7 separate regions of the Homo sapiens genome follow, and regions 2, 3, 4, 5, 6 and 7 are each linked to region 1. The links are contacts of gene promoters, found by promoter capture Hi-C in blood cells and fetal thymus (Javierre and others, 2016). All regions are on one chromosome and are shown on one strand. The core of a region is centred on a gene start or on the middle of the fragment in contact, and the rest is flanking DNA. Distances in the headings are between cores, read along the strand shown.

Region 1 (2,704 bases), core at 123-2,622:
GACAAATGCATGTTTTCAACTCACATTGTTTCTCCAGTCTTGGCTACATGACAAAGAAACTGATCCAGGACAGGACAAACTTCCTTTTTCCCCCTCTTCTCAAAATCTAGATGAAGGAAGAAAAAAAAACGTTATCAGTTTTCTCAAAAGCGCTCTAAAAACAAACTTTCCTCCTAGTCCTTTACCTTATTAAAAATCAATTAAATACAAAATTAAAAAAATAAGGCCTCTCAACCAAATTACCACCTCAATCCTCCAAGTTCTACTTCCAACATGTCACCCTCTTTACAGATAACAAGAATCCTCCTAAAGGGGGCACTCAACTTCACAAACCATTTTTAACGCAGTGCTTCTCGAAGTGTGGTCCGGGGGAACACCAGCATTATATTAAGCTGGGAATCCAGTGAAAATAAAAATCCCCAGGCCCCGACTCCCACCAATTGTTCATCTAAGTCCATAAATCTGCCTTTCTAAGAAGCACCAACTACCCCAAGTTGCCGTCCCCAAATGATTCTGAATGTCAAAGAATAATTCTCAAAACGCTGAAATCTCTCTACTCGAAGTTTGTAAGCCACTGTTCTCAAGCCTGTTGCGTGGAAGGCGTGCAATCAAGAACAGTGAAGGCAACCACCTCGAAATTAGGGCGCGGAAAGATGACTTCAAAAGCCCTGAAAAAGGCATACTGAGACAACTTAAAAGTTGCGATGCTACCCCCTACCCCCGCCCCCACCAACCGTTTACTTTTTCTCCCACCCCAACGCCTAGCGTACGGGTAGCCTGGTGGAGAAAAGAGGATATCTGGGAGGGAGGGGTCTGCGGGTCCGCCACTCGTCCCCTGAACGGGTGGGAGAAAGACTGGGGCCCCCGCAAGAGTTTCCCCGGCTCCCCTCCCCCAGCCCAGACGCCGGCGGCCGACACAAAGCCAGAGCGGGGCGGGAGAGAGCTGCCCACAGGGCTCCCCGCCCCTGGGGAGGTGGAGGGGGATGGGAGCCCGGGAAGCACTCTCCCCACGCCGCGCCCGGCCCCGGTCCTCGGAACCATCCGCCCTGAAAGGAGAGAAGAGCGAGCCGGAGAAGGTGAGGGGGAATGGAGAGGGGGCAGCTACCCCCACCTTTCAGCGCCTCCTGGAGCCTCTCGACGTCCATGGCTTCCCGGAGTCCCTCACAGCCTCCGCCTCCCTCCGCGGGTCTCTTGGGGACCGGAACGCCTCCCCCCACCCCCCCGACGCCCTCCCCCTCCCTCGCACACACTCCGGCACGCAGGCGACCGGGGGGGGGAAACGAAGGGAGCCGGGGGAAGCGTGCGAGAGAGCAAGACCGACAGAGCGAGCACCTCCCCAAGCCGCTACCACCAACCCTCCAACATGGCGCCCGGTACGTCACCGCGCGCACGCTCCCTGCCGCCGTCCTCGCTCCCGCCGCGCGCTCCGGCCCGGAACCCGAGAGCGCGTGCGCGGCCGAGGTGTGACGCTGGGGCCCAGTGGCGTCTGCGTCCCGGCGGCTTCCAGAGCCTCAGCCCCAGCCCCAGCCCCAGGCCCAGGCTCCGCGGAGCTGAAGACTGGACGGTCAGGCGAGAGGGTTGCAGGCGGACTCCTAGGCTTTGAATCCCTGCCATTTCCTCTCTGTGTGAACTTAAGCTACTTACTTCGCCTGTCTGAGCCTCATTTTCCCCATCTGTACAGTAAGGGCACTGGTACTGATGCCCTATGCAGTTGCTGTGAGAATTCAGTGTATACACTTCACGTTCAGAATGCGCCTAAAAAACGTAGAGCGAGGCCGGGCAGGGGGCTCAGGCCGGTGATCCCAACACTTTGGGAGGGAGGCCGAGGCGAGAGGATCGCTTGAGCCCAGGAGTTCGAGACCAGTCTGGGTAACAAAATGACCCCGCTCCCTCGCCCTTCTCTATATAAAAATAAATACAGGCCGGGCGCGGTGACTCAAGCCTGTAATCCCAGCACTTTGGGAGGCTGGGGCGGGCGGAGCACCTGAAGTCAGGAGTTGAAGACCAACCTGGCCAACATGGCGAAACCCCGTCTCTACTAAAAATACAAAATGTAGTCGGGCGTGGTCGCTCGTGCCTGTAATCCCAGTTACTCGGGAGGCTGAGGCACGAGAATCGCTTGAATCCAGGAGGCGGAGGTTGCAGTGAGCCGATATCGCGCCACTGCCTCCAGCCTAGGCGACAAAGCGAGACTGTTTCAAAAAAATAATAATAAAATTAACAATACATACATACACTAAGCATTGCTAATAATCCTAACAAGAATACCTCCCTGCTTAACCCAACGTTCGTTCGTCACTGGCCCACCTGTGGCAAGAAGTAATGTATACAGCAAAGTCATTAAGAGCTCAAGGTTTGGAATCAATATTCAAATCCCAACTCAACTACTTACTCCTTGTGTGGCCCTGAAGTAGTTACCTAAACTCAGGCAGCTTCAGGGTTCTTATTTATAAAATGAGGGTTGTAAAACGGCCACGAGGATTGAGTGAAATGGCAAATGTGAAACATTTGGCACAGTGCGTGAAACCTGGAACACTCAACGTGGCTGGGTTTTTATTACCACTGTTAGCATTATTACATGACATAATCTCCCAGGAGGTAGGAGAGGGCGGAAACCTCAGAAGTCCTCTGCAGCCCTGACATTTTACAAATGGGAAAGCTGTGTCACAGACAGCAAGTCTGGGGAGACAGAACTAGAACCCAG
Region 2 (2,704 bases), core at 56-2,555, 1.3 Mb after region 1:
TCATAATAACAAGTACTGGTATGTGATGCTCCAGCGTGGATGAACCTTGAAAATACTGTGCTCAATGAAAGAAGTCAAACACGAAAGACCACATATTGTACAAATCCACTTACATGAAATGCCCAGAACAGGTAAATCCATAGTGATAGAAAGTTGGTTAGTAGTTGCTGGGAGCTGGGGGAAAGGATTGGAGAGTGACCACTAATGGGTCCAGAGCTTTTTGGGGGGTGATGAAAATGTTCTAAAATTAGGTAATAGTGATAGTTCCACAACTCTGTGGATATCATAAGAAAACAGAATTATCAAAAAAATTCATATGAAAGTGAGGTCACCTCTGTGGCCTATGGAGGTGTCTTTATTAAAAGGTGGATAGGAGCCTGGCAAGTAACATGAACTCCTAGTTATGGCTTTCTGAGTGAGTGCAGATTCTTAAGGTGTGATTTCTTGTACTCTTACCTGAGGCTGGCCACAGAAATAAGTCATGCCTTGCCATATGATCATGTGCATAAGGATTGCCCCCTTTGGTGGGCCTTAACGTTTACGTGCTTTGGGGCTTTGATGTTTAGGTAAACCTGGGAAGAGAGATTAAGAAAGTTTTATTTAACCAATAGCTTTATATTACAGCACAGCCACTAGAAAAGCTATCATTTTTTAGATCCAAAAATGCACTAAGCTGTTTTGCATATATGATTAATAATTTACTCCTACAAAATCTCCTACCCCAGTTTGACAGATGAGGAGCCTTGAGTTTTAAAGCAATTAACCATAGTCTGTGGTCACACAGCACAAAGTAGAAGAGCAAGGTAAAATTCCAGTCTGTCTGGACCAAAAGCCTGAATTCTTGACAAATATGTACAGAAAGCTTTGTCGACTAATATATAATTGAAAGAAAATCTATTGGGATGATAGAAGTATTAAACTGGGATTGTATCTGCTAGTACAGAATTGCGAAAAACCATTATGCTAACGGCATAGGTGGCAGTATTTTAACCACCTGAAAATAAACACTTTCAATATCGAAAAGAAACAAACAAGGAGTCTACACTAACATGTTATCACTATTTACAATGCCATTATTGATATTTCTATAATGGTTTTCTAAGCAAGTTATAGCAACGGCTCCAAGTGAGAAAAAAAGGCCTTCTTAAAAAATGTGGCCCCTTTCTTTTGCATTATATTTACTAGCTGTTTAAACTCTCTCTAGTGGTTAAGTCATGTTGTGATCCTAAATTTTGCATTGACAGACTCAATGCAACCACCAGGACTACAGTGCTACTGGGAGTGCCGAAGATTACAAGATCAAACCTATTCCTTAAGCATCTCTTCATGTGCATGGAATAATGGTATAAATATTGCATATCAAAGCTGCTACTGCTGTAATCCTTGCCTTCATCTCCTTTCTCTCTTATTTGGTCGAAAATCAAATAGTGCATCGATTATTGATACTTTCTACTCTAGAGAATTACAGTGAATATACTTTATATGGTGGCGATTTGGGGGGTACATCCATATAAAATGTTCTGAACTATGGAACAGGTTCATAGTTCCATAAGACACATCTTTAAGTTCCTGTAAGACACATCTTTAAGGATGTACCTACTGTTTCTTGAATTGCTAGTTTACCTATTATGCAACGAGTTCCTTGTAATAAAATATGAAAGTTTGGCTCTTTTAAATGCCCACCCTCTATATACATACACCTCCCACACACATATAAATTTTTCCTATGCCACCAGCACCAAGCTTTGCATTGGGTTTTTATTTAGATGAGGTAGAGACCCTTTCATTTGCAGAATTGTAACAGTTGTTAAGGAGAGCATCTGTAAAAATAAATCTTAGAGATAAGGCAGACAGATTTTTATGATAAATCACATAAAAAGTATGACTTGGGTTCGATTCTCCTTAGACTCCCATGTGAACTTGCAGTGGTCTGATTTCCATATGTCAAACATTTTGGATAAACAGCTGCATTTCTCAGAGAAACCCCTGCTACCACCCTTCCTTCATTCTCTTACTTCATCTGGTCTGGACAGCTCCCTGCACAGCTGTGGCCCTGGCACTGCCTTCCAAAGCATGCTGTTCTCTTCTCTCCCTGTGAGACTTCCTGTTTCCTGGAATGAACCCACATCTTTCTCTTTCTTGTTTTATTCTTTTGTTTCATTTTCAAGTGGTATACATATATCAGTAGCTTCCTGAGAAAGCTGCTTTGGACGTAAATATATATATTTTTTTGAGACGGAGTCTCGCTCTGTCACCCAGCCTGGAGTGCAGTGGCACAGTCTCGGCTCACTGCAACCTCTGCCTCTCAGGTTCAAGTGATTCTTCTGCCTCAGCCACCTGAGTAGCTGGGACTACAGGCACGTGCCACCATGCCCAGCTAATTTTTGTACTTTTCATAGAGACGGGGTTTCACCATGTTGATCAGGCTGGTCTCAAACTCCTGACCTTGTGATCCACCCACCTCGGCCTCCCAAAGTGCTGGGATTACAGGCATGAGCCACCGTGCCCAGCCGGAGGTGAATATTTTAAGATTTTTTACGTATCTGGAAATGCTCTTACTTTACCTTCTTCATACTTGATAGTTTGGCTGGGAATAAAATTCTACTGGGTTGGCAATTATGACCAATGATATTGAACATTTTTTTCATGTGCTTATTTGCCATCTACCTATCTTCTTTGCTGATAAACCTGCCATATTTTTTCA
Region 3 (2,704 bases), core at 149-2,648, 1.2 Mb after region 1:
AATATTCAGCTGTTTAACATTCAGATAATTGCCTGCCTTCCCCCCGCTATCCCCCACATTTCGTCTGAATGCTTTGGCACGGGGGAGCCCCACAGTCTGAAAGTAACTCTGTCCCAACTCTCCTTACTGCATTTATTAAAGAGGCTGAAAGACGCATCTGCTTTTCAATAGTTTGCGGTTCTTAAGAGACCAGGAAAGCCAGAGGTTCTGACTATTCAGGAAGAAAGTTGGGTTTCCCAAAACGGGCAAGCAAGTTCGGTGTGGTCACATCTAGGTATTCTTGACGTCATTTTTGTTGAGGGAAACAGGCTGCAGTTTTTGGAGCCAGGCTAGGATGAGAGATGGAGGGCAAATCTGTCACTTATTCTTTCCTGGTGTGCCTGGAACCCACTAGACACTCAATTCATGTTTACGTGAATGAAGGAATCACAATAACGCCCTATCGCATCTGTAAAACCGAAGGGTGATTTTCCTGGGCTGGAAAGTTTAAGAAAGAAGAGAGAGCTGCGTACCTAGGGCTTAAGGGGCCTCAGGCTGGCACTCGAAACCAGGCGTTCTCATTTCCCTTTGGCATCACCCTGAACGGCTGTGCCTGGAGCTGGCGCGGGGCTGAAGAGGGGAGGAAATACATGTGAGGAAAATCAGAGGAGAGGGTCGGGAACAGATGTGGGCATAAAGGGAAGGCCTCTGACTTGAAATAAACAAATAGGAGTCCCGCAGCTGGAAGGACAAATCCTTTCACGTCGCGGGTGATGTGGGATTGGGGCGATTTTGCTCTCCCTTTGTTCTTTCCCCTGCCTTCCACGTTTCCAGGGTATTTGATTGATGTCTGTCTTCTCTGTTAAGTTATTCCACCGTGAGGAGAGAGCCGGTGGCAGTACCTGGCACGCAGCGGGCGCCCAGTATAGACCTGCTGAACAAACGAATGGATTCAGGGGCTGCTGTGTCCCCCTCACCCACCCCCCGCCCCCTATGTGTCCACAGCGCCCCGCACGTAGTAGGCGACCCCTAAACATCTGTACAGCAAATGATTTGCAAGTTTTCGGCGCTGAGCACGTGGAGCTTTGGAAACCAGGACAGCAAATGAGTGTCTCGGAGACCACAAAAGCGGTTCCGGCGCGTGCGAAAGGCGGTGGCTGGGCGACGGCGGAGGGAACGGCGCAGAGCGGGGCGCCCCGCCGGGAGCGCTGCCTGCGTGGCGCCCGAGGCGGGGGCGCGGGGGGCCGCGCATAGCACGTGCTCGTCTGGGAGCCGGCCGGGCCGAGGCGGGCGCGCGTGTGCGCGTGGGGCGTGGGGTGTGTGCCCGCGCCGTGCCCCCCGCGTGTGCTGCCGGGCGGGCGCCGGCGTGAGTCACGGCGGGGCTAGCCTTTATAACGGCCCGGAGGCTCGCGGGAGCCGCCGCGCCCGTCCGCCCGCCGCTCCGCGCTCCACCCAGCGCACCCGGGCCCCGCGCCCCCAACTGCCTCCGGCGGCCGCCCAGTCCCGAGGGCGCCATGAGGAGCCTGTGCTGCGCCCCACTCCTGCTCCTCTTGCTGCTGCCGCCGCTGCTGCTCACGCCCCGCGCTGGGGACGCCGCCGTGATCACCGGGGTAAGCGGCCCGGGCGCACCTGTCTGCCCCTGATGCGCGCCTGGGATGTGCCCAGGGGGCTTGGGACGGGGACCCTGAAGGGCAGGCTAGAGGCAAAGGGAGGGTCGCCCTGGGCGGGGACACCTGCCCCTGTCGCCCCTTGGTGCACTTGGGAAAATACCCAGATCCAAAAGCAGCAGACGGCTGGGGACACTGGGCGCGTCCTGGAAGAAACAGTGACAAGGATGTCGCCCACCACCTTTATTACCACCTTCTCCCGCTTACTTCTCCCTCATCACCCACGGCCTCACTCCTCGCATTTTTCTTCTGTTAGGCTGAAAGAAGTTTCTCTCTGAGTCTTCTCAAGTACTTTTGGAGGCTCTCCAACCTCGAACCTTAAAATTTGACGGCCCCTTCCTGAAATGCAAAGGACCAAGACGAATTCCCCAAGTGCCCAGAGTCTTAATCCTACAGTCAAAGAGTTTGCTCCCCGATGCGTCCTCCGCAGAAACCCTTTGAAATCGCTTGGTCCAGGGCCATGTGAGCGCTTTGAAAAGCAATTGTGGGAGCTTCCTTCTGGGTTCCGGGGCTTTCCCCCGCGCTCAGGGTCTTGAGGTATCCCCATAAAAGTTTTAAATTTCTAATTCCTGGCAAAGCACCTCCAGTGCTCCAGCATAATGATGGAGTAGGTTGCTGTGTAGATGTTTAAACTTAGAGACGATGTTTTCATCTTTTCTGTAAGTAGGAACTAGTTCAGTTCTCTCCCACTCTCAACAATTTTGTGTGGATCTGAAAAAATTGGGTTTGCAGTACAATACTAAATAGTCTAGTTTACATTAACAAGGCAAAACTGCTATCATTTCCTGGTTGTTCAACTTCTTTACTGTTTTTTAAGTGAGGAATTATTTCACACCTTCATTAAATTACTTCAAATATTTAAGTGCACATAATGGGATTTAAATAAAACGTCTATGTTTGAAATGTTGATACATAGATAATATCATTTGACTTTAAAGGAAGTATCTTTGTCTTGAAAAAATCAAGCTCTATTTTCTCTATATTAGTTATTAGGTTTATAGAATTTTGAAAGTCCTTTTGCTATGACAGCATTTGTATATATCCAACAGATATTTAAC
Region 4 (2,704 bases), core at 100-2,599, 1.2 Mb after region 1:
AGCTTTAAACAACCAGATCTTGTGAGAACTCACTCGCTATACTGTACCAAGGGGGGATGGTACTAAACCATTCATGAGAAACCCGCCCTCATGATCCAATCACCTCCCGCAAGTCCCACCTCCAGCATTGGGGGTTGTAATAATTCCAGTTCTCAGCCAATGGCAGGCTTCCTTCTTTCAAGCCTTGACTTTTCAGGGGAGAGCTCTCTGGGGCCTGGAGGAGGCATTGCTCTAGGGGTCAGGCACCATGCCCCACAGTGGCATCACTGCTTGAGAGCACCCAGAACAATGAAAGGCAGCCTGTGAGCCAGGGGAGGGTCCACTCAAACCAAGGGTGTATGGAGCAAACTGCGTAAGCATTGAGGCCCCAGGAGAGATTTGCACAGGAGATGCAGGTGCCCAGTATGATCAATCCCTCTCCCCAGACCTCCAGCCATCATTTGCAATAACCGAAGTTAACATTACCTGATGCTTTGCTTCTGGGGAACCAGTGTGCACAACCTCCTTAAAAAAAATAAGGGTTTGGCTGGGCTTGGTGGCTCACACCCATAATCCCAGCACTTTGGGAGGCCAAGGCAGGTGAATCACCTGAGGTAAGGAGTTCGAGACCAGCCTGGCCAACATGGCAAAACCTCATCTCTACAAAAAATACAAAAATCAGCCAGGTGTGGTGCTGCACACCTGTAATCCCAGCTACTCGGGAGGCTGAGGCAGGAGAATTGCTTGAAACTGGGAGATGGAGGTTGCAGTGAGCCGAGATTATGCCAATGCACTCTAGCCTGGGCAACAAGAGTGAAACTGCGTCTCCAAAAAAAAAAAAAAGAAAAGAAAAGAAAAAAAGGAAAAAAAACGGTTTGTGGCATGTAGTGGGGCGAGACTTTCAGATTTCTGAGCAGGAACCTAAGCTGATAGAAGAATTGTACACACTAAAAATGCCTGGTCCCTGTCATATTGTAGTGATCTGTGACCTTAAATTTAAGTATTCAACTTTCACCAGGTTATTTTGAATTTGAGTTCTGCTAGATAGAATCAAACCTATGTAAGGCTGGGCACGGCAGCTCGCGCCTGTAAATCCCAGCACTTTGGGAGGCCAAGACAGGTGGATCATTGAGGTCAGGAGTTTGAGACGAGGCTGACCAACATGGTGAAACCCTGTCTCTACTAAAAATATTAAAAAATTAGCCAGGCATGGTGGTGCACGCCTGTAATCCCAGCTACTCAGGAGACTGAGGTAGGAGAATTGCTTGAACCCAGGAGATGGAGATTGTAATGAGCCAAGATCACTCCACTGCACCCCAGCCTGGGCGTCAGGGGGAGACTCTGTCTTATAAAAAAATAAAAAGAATCAAACCTATGTTACTAATTGTTACTGAATCATCTGAATTTGACTGGCTTCAAAAGTGTCTTTCCAACAGGACTGTTTGTTTAATTGGGTTTAATATTATGCATTTTTCAACCAGTCTTGAAGAAGTTTTCAAACTCCCACTATGTGTCAGGTGCTATGCTAGGCACTGGGTGAATTAAAAAGGCATAGTCTGGTCCCCGGAAGCAGACTCAGAGATAAAGATTTTTGTGAAAATGATTTATGAAGGCAGGGTCTCCTGGGAACACTGGGCAAAGTAAGAGTAGGGGAACACGGCAAAGCAAGAGGAAGAAGCCCACCAGAGTGGCGATCTCAAACCAAAGGCCAGACTCCACCTGATCCTGCAGGGAGCTCTGGAGAGTCAACTGCATCTAAGGGTTTTTCCTGAGTCAGAATAAAGGAGCTGGGCTTTCATTCTGCTGGGTTAGCAGGTCCTTGGCTACTGGCTACCCCAAGCAGAAAAAAGCACTCCGGCATTTCTGGCCCTCTGCACAAGCAGAGCAGGGCCTCTCTGGGAGCCTGAGAGCAGTTCTGTTGCAGGTCCCACTGACATAGCAAAAGAACAATGCAGCCAAAGTAGGAGAGCATGGAAATGGTAAAGGAATGTGAGGGCTTCTGAGCTGAGCATCAGCAGTGGCTGCTACAAGGTCCCTAAAAGATGGTAATAGTCAGGGGCTAGGCACTCACGCCTGTAATCCTAGCACTTTGGGAGGCCGAGGCAGGTGGGTCACTTGAGGTCAGGAGTTTGAGACCAGCCTGGCCAACATGGTGAAACCCCATCTCTACTAAAAATACAAAAAAAGTAGCTGGGCATGATGGCTGATGCCTGTTATCCCAGCTACTTAGGAGGCTGAGGGATGAGAATCGTTTGAACCTAGGAGGTGGAGGTCGCAGTGAGCTGAGATCACACCACAGCACTCCAGCCTGGGTGACAGAGGGAGACTCTGCCTTTAAATAATAATAATAATAATGTTTTACCAGCTATCTGGGCATCCCTTCTCCCAGTCAGCTTGACACATAAAATTAACCATTATATCTGCCATTATCAAATGCAATAAATGCAGCATAGGAAATAAATAAAGTGCAATTTTGTAAGTACCTATTTGGGAAGAGGCAGACATTCTCAACCTGCAAGCACTCTAACCTTTCCCCTTCCCCTGACTCCCCAACTAGACATAGGCCCCGTGCTGGTGATGGAGCAGCCATGGTGCCCCCACCAGGAGCTATGTGTGAGGACCAACATTCCAAGAATGGCTGGGTGGGAAGATGGAAGAAGCCCCTGCCTCTGATGGCATCGTGGAGCATGGGCACCAGCCCTGGACTGCTGTCTCCAGATTGCTT
Region 5 (2,704 bases), core at 99-2,598, 1.2 Mb after region 1:
TGTCGTCCTTGAAATATCATTACCTGTTTTTCAAAAAAGCATTTTCCCATTTGTATTTTTCCTTAATGTAATACATTTGTTTGCATCCTTGTTCAGAGAAAGGGTTTGAAATATGTCAGAAATGTTCCTTAATTCCAGTTGAAAATATCAATGTTTCAAGAGTTCAAAAGAGACTTTAAAAAATCACTGGTTTAAAAAATCACTGGTGCTTAAAAATATGCCCTTTCAAAAAATGTAATATTGGAAACCAATGAATCCGCTCTTGCTCTCAAATGAAGATGAATATTTATTAAAAAGATTGACTGCTACTACAAAAACGCATTGGTGGAAATGTATCAAAAATGAAATAACAAGTATACATTATATTTTGAGAGTATTTTTGTTCAATACCATTCTTAGCCCAAGTGATTAAATATTTATTGCAGAAGAATAAAGCCTTACAACTTAGTGCAACCAAGATCTCTGTACAATGAAGTGAAGTCAGCTGCCAATGCCCTAACTATTTTGAACAACTTGAACAGCAAAATCTGAAGTTAGCAAAAGCTTGTAGATGGTTATACCATTTTATCATCACCATAGCCCTAGAAAATTGATATAACCACCTTCATTTTAAAGATGAAGAAAAAAAGCTTAGCGTGGCTTGGTAATGTGTGCAAGATAACACAGCTTGTGTCAGTGTTGCTATCAATACCATGGACTTCCAGATCCAAATCCAGTGTTCTTGCATCTATATCTCAGTGGGTTCTAGATTGGGCCAAAATTACACCCACCCTCTCAGTGGCTTTCTCTGAGGTCCTTCTGTTGTGTACAGCTCTCACTTTTGTCTAATGTTATTTTGATGAGAAACTCTTTCCCATTCCAAGTAGTTCTGGTGGGGCTGTCAACCACAGTACCTAACCACCCCCACAAACACACACACCCGTATTCCTGTTCTCCCCTGTGCTGGACTGTACCATCGCTGGGTTGGACCACTCATCATCCCTGTGGTTGTTCCAGTTCCAGTTGACATCCTTTCTAAGAATTTTCCAAACTGGGATAAAAGTGTGGCTTACCAGGAAGAACTCAGTCTCTCTCTCTCTCTCTCTCTCTCTCTCTCTCTCTCTCTCTCTCTCTCTCAATAAATTGTAAGTAATTAGGTCTTGTAATGTCAGTGGTCCTTTCCCACTCCCCCATCCCCAGCCCCCTAACACTGCCACTTAGAAAGCCTGTCTACATAGAATTAGTCCAACACACAAGGAGAAGTGGAGATGAGAGATGAATGGAGAGAGAATCCAGAGGATTCTGTGAAGCCTGGATCCAGCCACAGCTACACTTTCAGTTGACATGAGCCAGTACATTTTCTTTTTCATTAAGCTAAGTTGAATTGAGTTTTTATCATTTTCAGTTAAAAGGGTCTGGGGCCGGATGCGGTGACTCACGCCTGTAATCCCAGCACTTTTGGAGGCCTACGTGGGCGGATCACTTGAGGTCAGGAGTTCGAGACCAGTCTGGCCAACATGGTGAAACCCCGTCTCTACTAAAAACACAAAAATTAGTCAGGCGTGGTGGCAGATGCCTGTAATCCTAGCCACTCAGGAGGCTGAGGCAGGAGAATTGCTTGAACCTGGGAGGCAGAGGTTGCAGTGAGCCAAGATTGCACCACTGCACTCCAGCCTGGGCCACAGAGTGAGACTCTGTCTCAATAAAATAAAATAAAATAAAATAAAAATAAGTTATAGTCATTCCTACAATGAAATACTCCAGAGAAGTTAAAATGAATGAAATGAATCTAATGTGTCAATATAGATCCACCTCAGAAACATGATAAGGTATATAAAATCAAATTGCAGGAAGATATGTGGAATTTGATATCATTTACCCAGATGCTAAAAATCCCCAAACAAAGTTTATATATTATTCCCTGTAATTTTGTCTATGTTTAATTTTTTCATAATAAAGTTCAAAAATACATCGTATATTGCTTCATCTTACACAAATATGTAATAAAACACGAAAACATAAATTAGAAGAATATCTGCTTCAATGCACCTTTGAAGAAGGAGGGAGAAGAGTACAAAAGAAGCTTCCACTGAATCAATGCTTTGTTTCTTTGGGAAAAAATTTCACATGAAACAAATATGACAAAATTTTGCTTTGAGTTGGGGTTTCACTATATTGCCCAGGCTGGAGTGCGGTGCCTATTCACAGATGCTATCCTGCTGCTGATCAGCATGAGAGTTTTTAACTGCTTGGTTTCTGAGCTGGGCCGGTTTACCCCTCCTTAGGTAACCTGCTGTTGCCTGCTTTCAAGAGGTCACCATACGGATGTCAAACTTAGTGTGGACACCCAATTGACATAACACACTACAGCCCAGAATTCCTGGGTTCAAGCAATCCTGCTTCAGCCTCTCGAGTAGCTAGGACTACAGGTATGTGCCACCACACCCAGCTAGCAAAATGTTCAGAGTTAATTAGGTCTAGGAGGGAGGTAGATTCTTGTATGTTAGAATTTTTTTGAAAAGAAAGAATATTAGAAAAAAAGTCAAACATTAAACACTTACAAAAAGATACAAATTGACAATCAACTGCTCAATTAATTAATTAATGAGGGACTGTTTGCCCCAACATCCTTTGGCTGCCACTAGAGAGGAGATGGCATTCTGTCTGCAAGCACAAAGACTAGGGGAAGAAAGGTAAAGATAGGAAAGTCCTCCAATCATTTTTG
Region 6 (2,704 bases), core at 62-2,561, 1.1 Mb after region 1:
TCTAGAAGAGTGAACCCTGGAACTTTTGCTGTGACTATTGGGAAGAGCAGAAAGGAAGCTTCTTTCTGCTGGGGTAGCTGGGCTTCCAGAATATAAACCTAAAGTCACTAATGGCCAACTTACTACCATAGAGAAAAACATGGCTTAGAATGAAGCCAACTTAAGGCCAGGAGCAGTGGCTCACGCCTGTAATCCCAGCACTTTGGGAGGCTGAGGCGGGCGGATCACCTGAGGTCAGGAGTTCAAGACCAGCCTGGCCAACATGGTGAAGCCCCATCTCTACAAAAATACAAAAACTAGCCAGGGATGATGGCAGGTGCCTGTAATCCCAGCTACTCAGGAGGCTGAGGCAGGAGAATCACTTGAAACCGGGAGGCAGAGGTTGCCATGAGCTGAGTTTGTGCCATTGCACTCCAGCCTGGGCGACAGAGAAAGACACCATTTAAAAAAAAAAAAAAAAAAAGAATGAAGCCAGCATAAAGAAAAGCAGAACCATGAGAAGGGAAAAAGATTGCTTACAATCTTGTTTGAATACCAGATCCAGTCATGACTGTGCATAGATCTCTTGGTTACGTGAGCCCTTTTAAAAATTATTATTTTTTTTAATGAGTCAATTTCTGCCATTTGCAACTGGATGACTTCGGACTAAGACACAACAGACCTGAGACAGAATTGGGTACTAAGAGATCACTGCAGTCAAAACCAGTGAACAGTGACTGAGGGGGATGTCTGTCTTTGGGGCCAGTTGTAGGATTGGACGGTTTTGAATGAGCCAGATGTCTAGACATCAAAAATGAAGCCCCACTTCAGGACTAGACTAGCAGCATAGGTGATCCTCTCTGGTGCCTGCTTTTCCAAACCAAGTTTTAGACACTCCCTACTTCTCATGCAGAATCTAGCCATAACAAACTTCTTCACAAATTCCTCAGCCTCATTTTTTGTTCTCTTTCTTATATCTGGGGACGCTTGCTATCCTTTCAATAGTGAGAACTTTTTCCTACGCCCATCCTTAATAATTATTTTCCTTATAAATTCTCCTTATGTGTCAGATACTCTGACAATAAACATTATATATAAATACATTTATAGTTGTGTCATAATATAGATATATTTTAATATTATATATTTTAATCTTTATCCATGAGGACAATAACCTATGAGGTCAGAATTATTATTATTTTCATTTTTTAAATGTGGAAATTGAGGCTGAGGTGGGTACATTGACTTGCCCAGGATGTGAACCTTGGCCATCAGACCCTAGACTGCACCCTTCTAGCCATTATGACATGAGGACTCCATCTTGCCTAAACACCCTTATTTAGCCTTTGGGTCTCACTCAGATCTACCCTTAAATCAACGTTGGTTCCCCACTGCTGTGTACTTCCCTGGGCCCGCTGTTCTTCCCTTCTGATAGCTGTCAGCACACTCTTCTATAGTCGCTTTGTTCAATTGTCTGTCTTTCCTGCCAGGCTGGGCCCCATAAATGTGTAGCCTGTGTCCCCTGTGACTCCAGCCTCTTCTCAGTGTCCAGCATATAAAAGATCCTCAGCGACAATTTCAATAACTAAAGGAAGAATGACTGGTGAATGACAGGTGTTGGCTTGAGTGAATCTTGCCTTTTGTTCAGACTGAAACTGAAAGTTATGTGAAAAGTGACCATTGTCACCAAAGGATCAAGGAACTTGGGCTGTAAGGGGCCAAGGATGGATACAGAGAAGAATTTAGACACAGCTTGATCTAGCCCCAGAGTCTGCAGAATGGGGGATTCCAGGCCTGGTACCAGATAAGGAGAGACTGTTAGGCAAGGGGGTCTTGCCACCTCTCAAATCACATCCTGTATCCACCCTGCTCACCCCACAACCTGGATTCTCTTTAGCTGTCTTCTTCAGCAGCTGTGAACTTTCAAAAGCAGGAGTTTTGTCTTTCAGCTCTGTTTCCCAGCTCTCAACCCAATGCCCAGCAGCCCATGGGCCCTCCTGGGTGCTGCTAGCTGTCTAGTCATTCAGTGATGGGGTACTTGCTCCCAAGGCAACCCCCATTGCTCTCCTGGGGCTGAAGCGTGATGGAGAAGGCCACTGTTCATTTCCAGCTAGCTTTCTGCTCTGTGCAGCTTTGGCAGAAGTGCCGACTCTTCAAAGGATGGGTGCATTGACATTTCACAACTCTGCATGCTTTCTGATGATTCCTGATAATGCTATCTGCCAAATAGCAGATATTGCTCTCCACGACTAAAAAATGAGATTGCTCAAATGTCCCTCTAGACATCATAGACAGTTTTCATATTCATTCATTTATTCGCGTATTCATCATTCAGCAAATATTTACTGAACACATATTAAGGCACATGCTAGGTTCATGGCTACCGAGGAGGGCAGTAGGAAATGGATCAGTAAAACATGAATGCTCTCTAAAAGCTGAGTTGAAGACACAAAAGCTACTCTTTCTAAGATACCCACTGTGTGCCAGGCATGTGCTAAATAATCTCCATATATTGTCTCCTTTATTCTTCACTATCACTATTGGATATTAGATGAGGCAGCTGAAGATCTGAATGTGAAAGCTTCTTGCTCAAGACCATACAGCTAGTGAGAAACAGAATGGGGATTCCATTCCCAATCTCTGAGATACCAGTGCCTAGTTCTTTCCTCTGTGCTGCACTGCCTCCAAAATAAGGATCAGATTGGAGGTAAGCAGTGACCTTGGA
Region 7 (2,704 bases), core at 82-2,581, 1.1 Mb after region 1:
CTCAGCCTCCTAAATATTTTTGTCTGTCCTTCTCTCACTCTTCTCTCCTTCAAGGACTCTGAAAAGTAGGTTAGATCACTTGATGTGATCCCATAGGTCACTGAAACTCTATTCAGTTTTTTTTTTTCATCTTTTATTCTCTGCATGCTTCAGTTTGATTAGTTAACTATTGCCCTGTCTTTGAGTTCACTAATATTTTCTTCTGTAGTGTCTCTATTAATCCCATCCAGTGAATTTTTATGTCAAATCTTGTATTTTTCAGTTTTTATAATTTGGTTCTTTTTTATAGTTTCCATTTCTCTATTGAGATTTGCCATCTATTTCCTCATAACATTTTTGTTTTCCTTTAACATCTTTGACTGTGTATATAGTAGCTGTTTAAAAGCCTTTTCTTCTATTTCCTTCTTCTTGTTTCTTCTGATTTGTTTCAATTATTGACTGATTTTCTGTCCTTCACATTTTCCTGCTTCTTCAGGTGTCTGTGCATATTTTATTGTGTTCTGGGCATTTTGGATGATGCATTGTTCAGTGTCTGGATTTTGTCGTCTTCCTTTAAATATCAGATTTTGTCTGGCAGACAGTTAATTTCCTTATGGATCAGCTTGATCCTTTGAGGTTTGTTTTTAATGTTTGTTAGGGAGGGGCTAATATATCTTTAACTCCAAGACAATAGTAACCTTCTCCTAACACATGGCCTTTCTTGAGGGTCAACTGAGTACCCAGAATTTTCAAAGCAGCCTATTCATTTACACTTACAACAATACACTTCTGTTCCATATGAGATTGTATACGCCATATACACTTAAGCCAATATCTCTTGGAAGGCTGAGTCAGGCAGATTGCTTGAGCCCACGAGTTTGAGACCAGCCTAAAAATATGGCAAAACCCTGTCTCTTCAAAAAGTACAAAAATTTGCTGGGTGTAGTGGCGCGTATCTGTAGTCCCAGCTACTCGGTAGGCTGAGGTGGGATGATCACTTGAGCCCAGGAGGTCAAGGCTGCAGTGAGCTGAGATCACACTACTGCATTCTAGCCTGGGCAAAAGAGTGAGACCCTGTCAAAATAAAAAAACAAAAACAACAGCAACAAAAAAACTCAGTTCCATACAAGCTCCAAATCTCAATTCAGCTCATAGCTTTGTTCTTTTCCTAGCCACCTGGATTCGTGTGCTGCATACTTGTCACTTGGTACCCAAAGAGTCTAGGATTCCTGAAGCTTCTTTTTTTTTTTTTTTTTCTGAGCAGATTTCAGAAGCTTCTTCTCTGTATGACTGCTACTTCTCTAGAACTCTGCCCTGTAAATTCCAGCCATGTTATCAGACCTAACTCCAGTCTCATCACATCTCTTCAGTAACACTGCCATTCTCTGTTTCAGTTTTCCTTCCATGTGCCATGATCTGGAAAAAGCTTTAAAAAAAGTAGATCAATCAACGTCTTCACTTTTTGCAAGTGAAGGCCAAGTTATAATGTAAGCAAGTCTCCAAGTTGTGGCCCATATATTACAGATATATTATTTAAACGTACTTATTAAATACAAGGCATAAAATGGCTTATAGAAAATGTTTTTGCAAGCTGGATGAAGTCCCAGGTCTTTGCCCTTTTAACCTCACCTTTCCTAAAAAGGTTCACATGCAGCAGGCATGACACTAGCCTCGAGGCAGCAGCAGGAGACCAGGAGACAAAGTCTCCAGTGTCATCCCTGAGAGTACCCACTGCAGGCCTCCCTGGACTTTCTACCCTCTTACAAGGGCAGAGGACTGGCCCCACAATGCTCTGGCCAAGCCATGTATCCTGACTACCACTAAATTGCCCAAGGAGAATCCACTTACAGCATCTAATATGTTAATTTAAAACCTCTAATTTTAACAGAACATATTTCTAATGTTCATTTTGTGAATGACCAAAGACTCTGGATTTCACGCAAGGATTAGCAATGCTTTTAGAATCAATGTTTCTGAAATCCTTTCTGATTAAAACCAAGCTGATTGCCCTGGTGTATAAATTTCTCATCTGGGTAGCAGTCTGCCCCTAGCATGCAGCTCGAGCTAACACATACAAAATACTACACTGTGTGGAGCTATTTAAACTTCCCGTACATCTCACCATACACAGAGCTGGCATGAGAAAAATCTAAAATCTGGATCAGGTGCTGATGTAATGAATGGGAACAAAATAAACTGGAAGCCTCCCCTCACAAGGATGGTCTGGCTCCCAAGGCTATTTCTCCCTTCATGAGCTGATTTTTCACGTGAGACACCTCAGCATGATCTCAGTTCTTCTCTGTCCTTTTCTCCACTGCTGCTGGGCTGACCAGCATGGAGGTCACAGGGCAGCATGCCAGGAGGGGTAGGGCCTCCATATTCCATGGGTCAGAGCATGTTACAAGGCCAGCCCCAGTCATTCAAGGAATGGGGAAATAAATTTAATGGTAAGAGCTACAAAGAGTTTATGCTAATATTTCATCCACCACACCCTGGATACAAATGTATAATTACCAACTAAAGAAAGTCACCCTGAAGACAAGGAGCAGGGTTCTACGGGAATGTCAGAGGAGTGGAAGAAATCTCAGGGCTCAGAGGAATCTAACTTGACCAAAAGCTCAGATCGCCCCTTAAAACCTATGTCTAAGATCTCAAGAATAAAGAGGGACAAGGAAAGGGTAGCGTTTAGGCAGCAGAATGACACATGCAAAGACACGTGGCAGGT

The links. Contacts are between HindIII fragments. The CHiCAGO score rates a contact against its expected background, and 5 or more counts as called.
Region 2: a fragment that was not itself captured here is called in contact with the fragment with the promoter of PPP4R2 in region 1 in 3 of 17 cell types (naive B cells, total B cells and naive CD4 T cells); the score reaches 8.8 in naive B cells.
Region 3: a contact is called between the fragment with the promoter of PROK2 here and the fragment with the promoter of PPP4R2 in region 1, in 10 of 17 cell types (erythroblasts, naive B cells, neutrophils and 7 more). The highest score is 10.2, in erythroblasts.
Region 4: a fragment that was not itself captured here is called in contact with the fragment with the promoter of PPP4R2 in region 1 in 1 of 17 cell types (neutrophils); the score reaches 5.8 in neutrophils.
Region 5: a fragment that was not itself captured here is called in contact with the fragment with the promoter of PPP4R2 in region 1 in 1 of 17 cell types (M2 macrophages); the score reaches 5.3 in M2 macrophages.
Region 6: a contact is called between a fragment that was not itself captured here and the fragment with the promoter of PPP4R2 in region 1, in 1 of 17 cell types (neutrophils). The highest score is 6.3, in neutrophils.
Region 7: a fragment that was not itself captured here is called in contact with the fragment with the promoter of PPP4R2 in region 1 in 3 of 17 cell types (fetal thymus, total B cells and naive CD8 T cells); the score reaches 9.5 in fetal thymus.

The regions. Positions count from the first base shown.
Region 1 is chr3:72,995,479-72,998,182 of GRCh38, reverse strand. It overlaps PPP4R2 (protein phosphatase 4 regulatory subunit 2), which reads right to left and starts at 1,372. Exons shown (of 9, transcript NM_174907.4): 1 at 1,112-1,372; 2 at 25-106. The coding sequence starts at 1,145. LOC124909395 (a long non-coding RNA gene) reads left to right here and starts at 992. Exons shown (of 2, transcript XR_007095961.1): 1 at 992-1,076. RefSeq lists enhancers at 388-437, 1,698-1,747 and a silencer at 888-1,517. The HindIII fragment of the contact is 5,282 bases long and covers 1-2,704 here.
Region 2 is chr3:71,744,273-71,746,976 of GRCh38, reverse strand. It overlaps a transcript of EIF4E3 not described here. Among named protein-coding and RNA genes, the nearest start is that of GPR27, 8.2 kb to the left of the region's middle. The HindIII fragment of the contact is 881 bases long and covers 865-1,745 here.
Region 3 is chr3:71,783,842-71,786,545 of GRCh38, reverse strand. PROK2 (prokineticin 2) reads left to right here and starts at 1,398. Exons shown (of 4, transcript NM_001126128.2): 1 at 1,398-1,589. The coding sequence starts at 1,494. It overlaps LOC105377156 (a long non-coding RNA gene), which reads right to left and starts at 1,156. Exons shown (of 4, transcript NR_199161.1): 1 at 1,023-1,156; 2 at 799-910; 3 at 513-609; 4 at 119-329. The HindIII fragment of the contact is 4,477 bases long and covers 1-2,704 here.
Region 4 is chr3:71,802,640-71,805,343 of GRCh38, reverse strand. No RefSeq gene overlaps it. Among named protein-coding and RNA genes, the nearest start is that of PROK2, 19 kb to the right of the region's middle. The HindIII fragment of the contact is 9,218 bases long and covers 1-2,704 here.
Region 5 is chr3:71,826,902-71,829,605 of GRCh38, reverse strand. It overlaps the pseudogene RN7SL271P. Among named protein-coding and RNA genes, the nearest start is that of PROK2, 43 kb to the right of the region's middle. The HindIII fragment of the contact is 1,433 bases long and covers 632-2,064 here.
Region 6 is chr3:71,853,707-71,856,410 of GRCh38, reverse strand. No RefSeq gene overlaps it. Among named protein-coding and RNA genes, the nearest start is that of PROK2, 70 kb to the right of the region's middle. The HindIII fragment of the contact is 2,502 bases long and covers 61-2,562 here.
Region 7 is chr3:71,880,908-71,883,611 of GRCh38, reverse strand. No RefSeq gene overlaps it. Among named protein-coding and RNA genes, the nearest start is that of PROK2, 97 kb to the right of the region's middle. The HindIII fragment of the contact is 152 bases long and covers 1,256-1,407 here.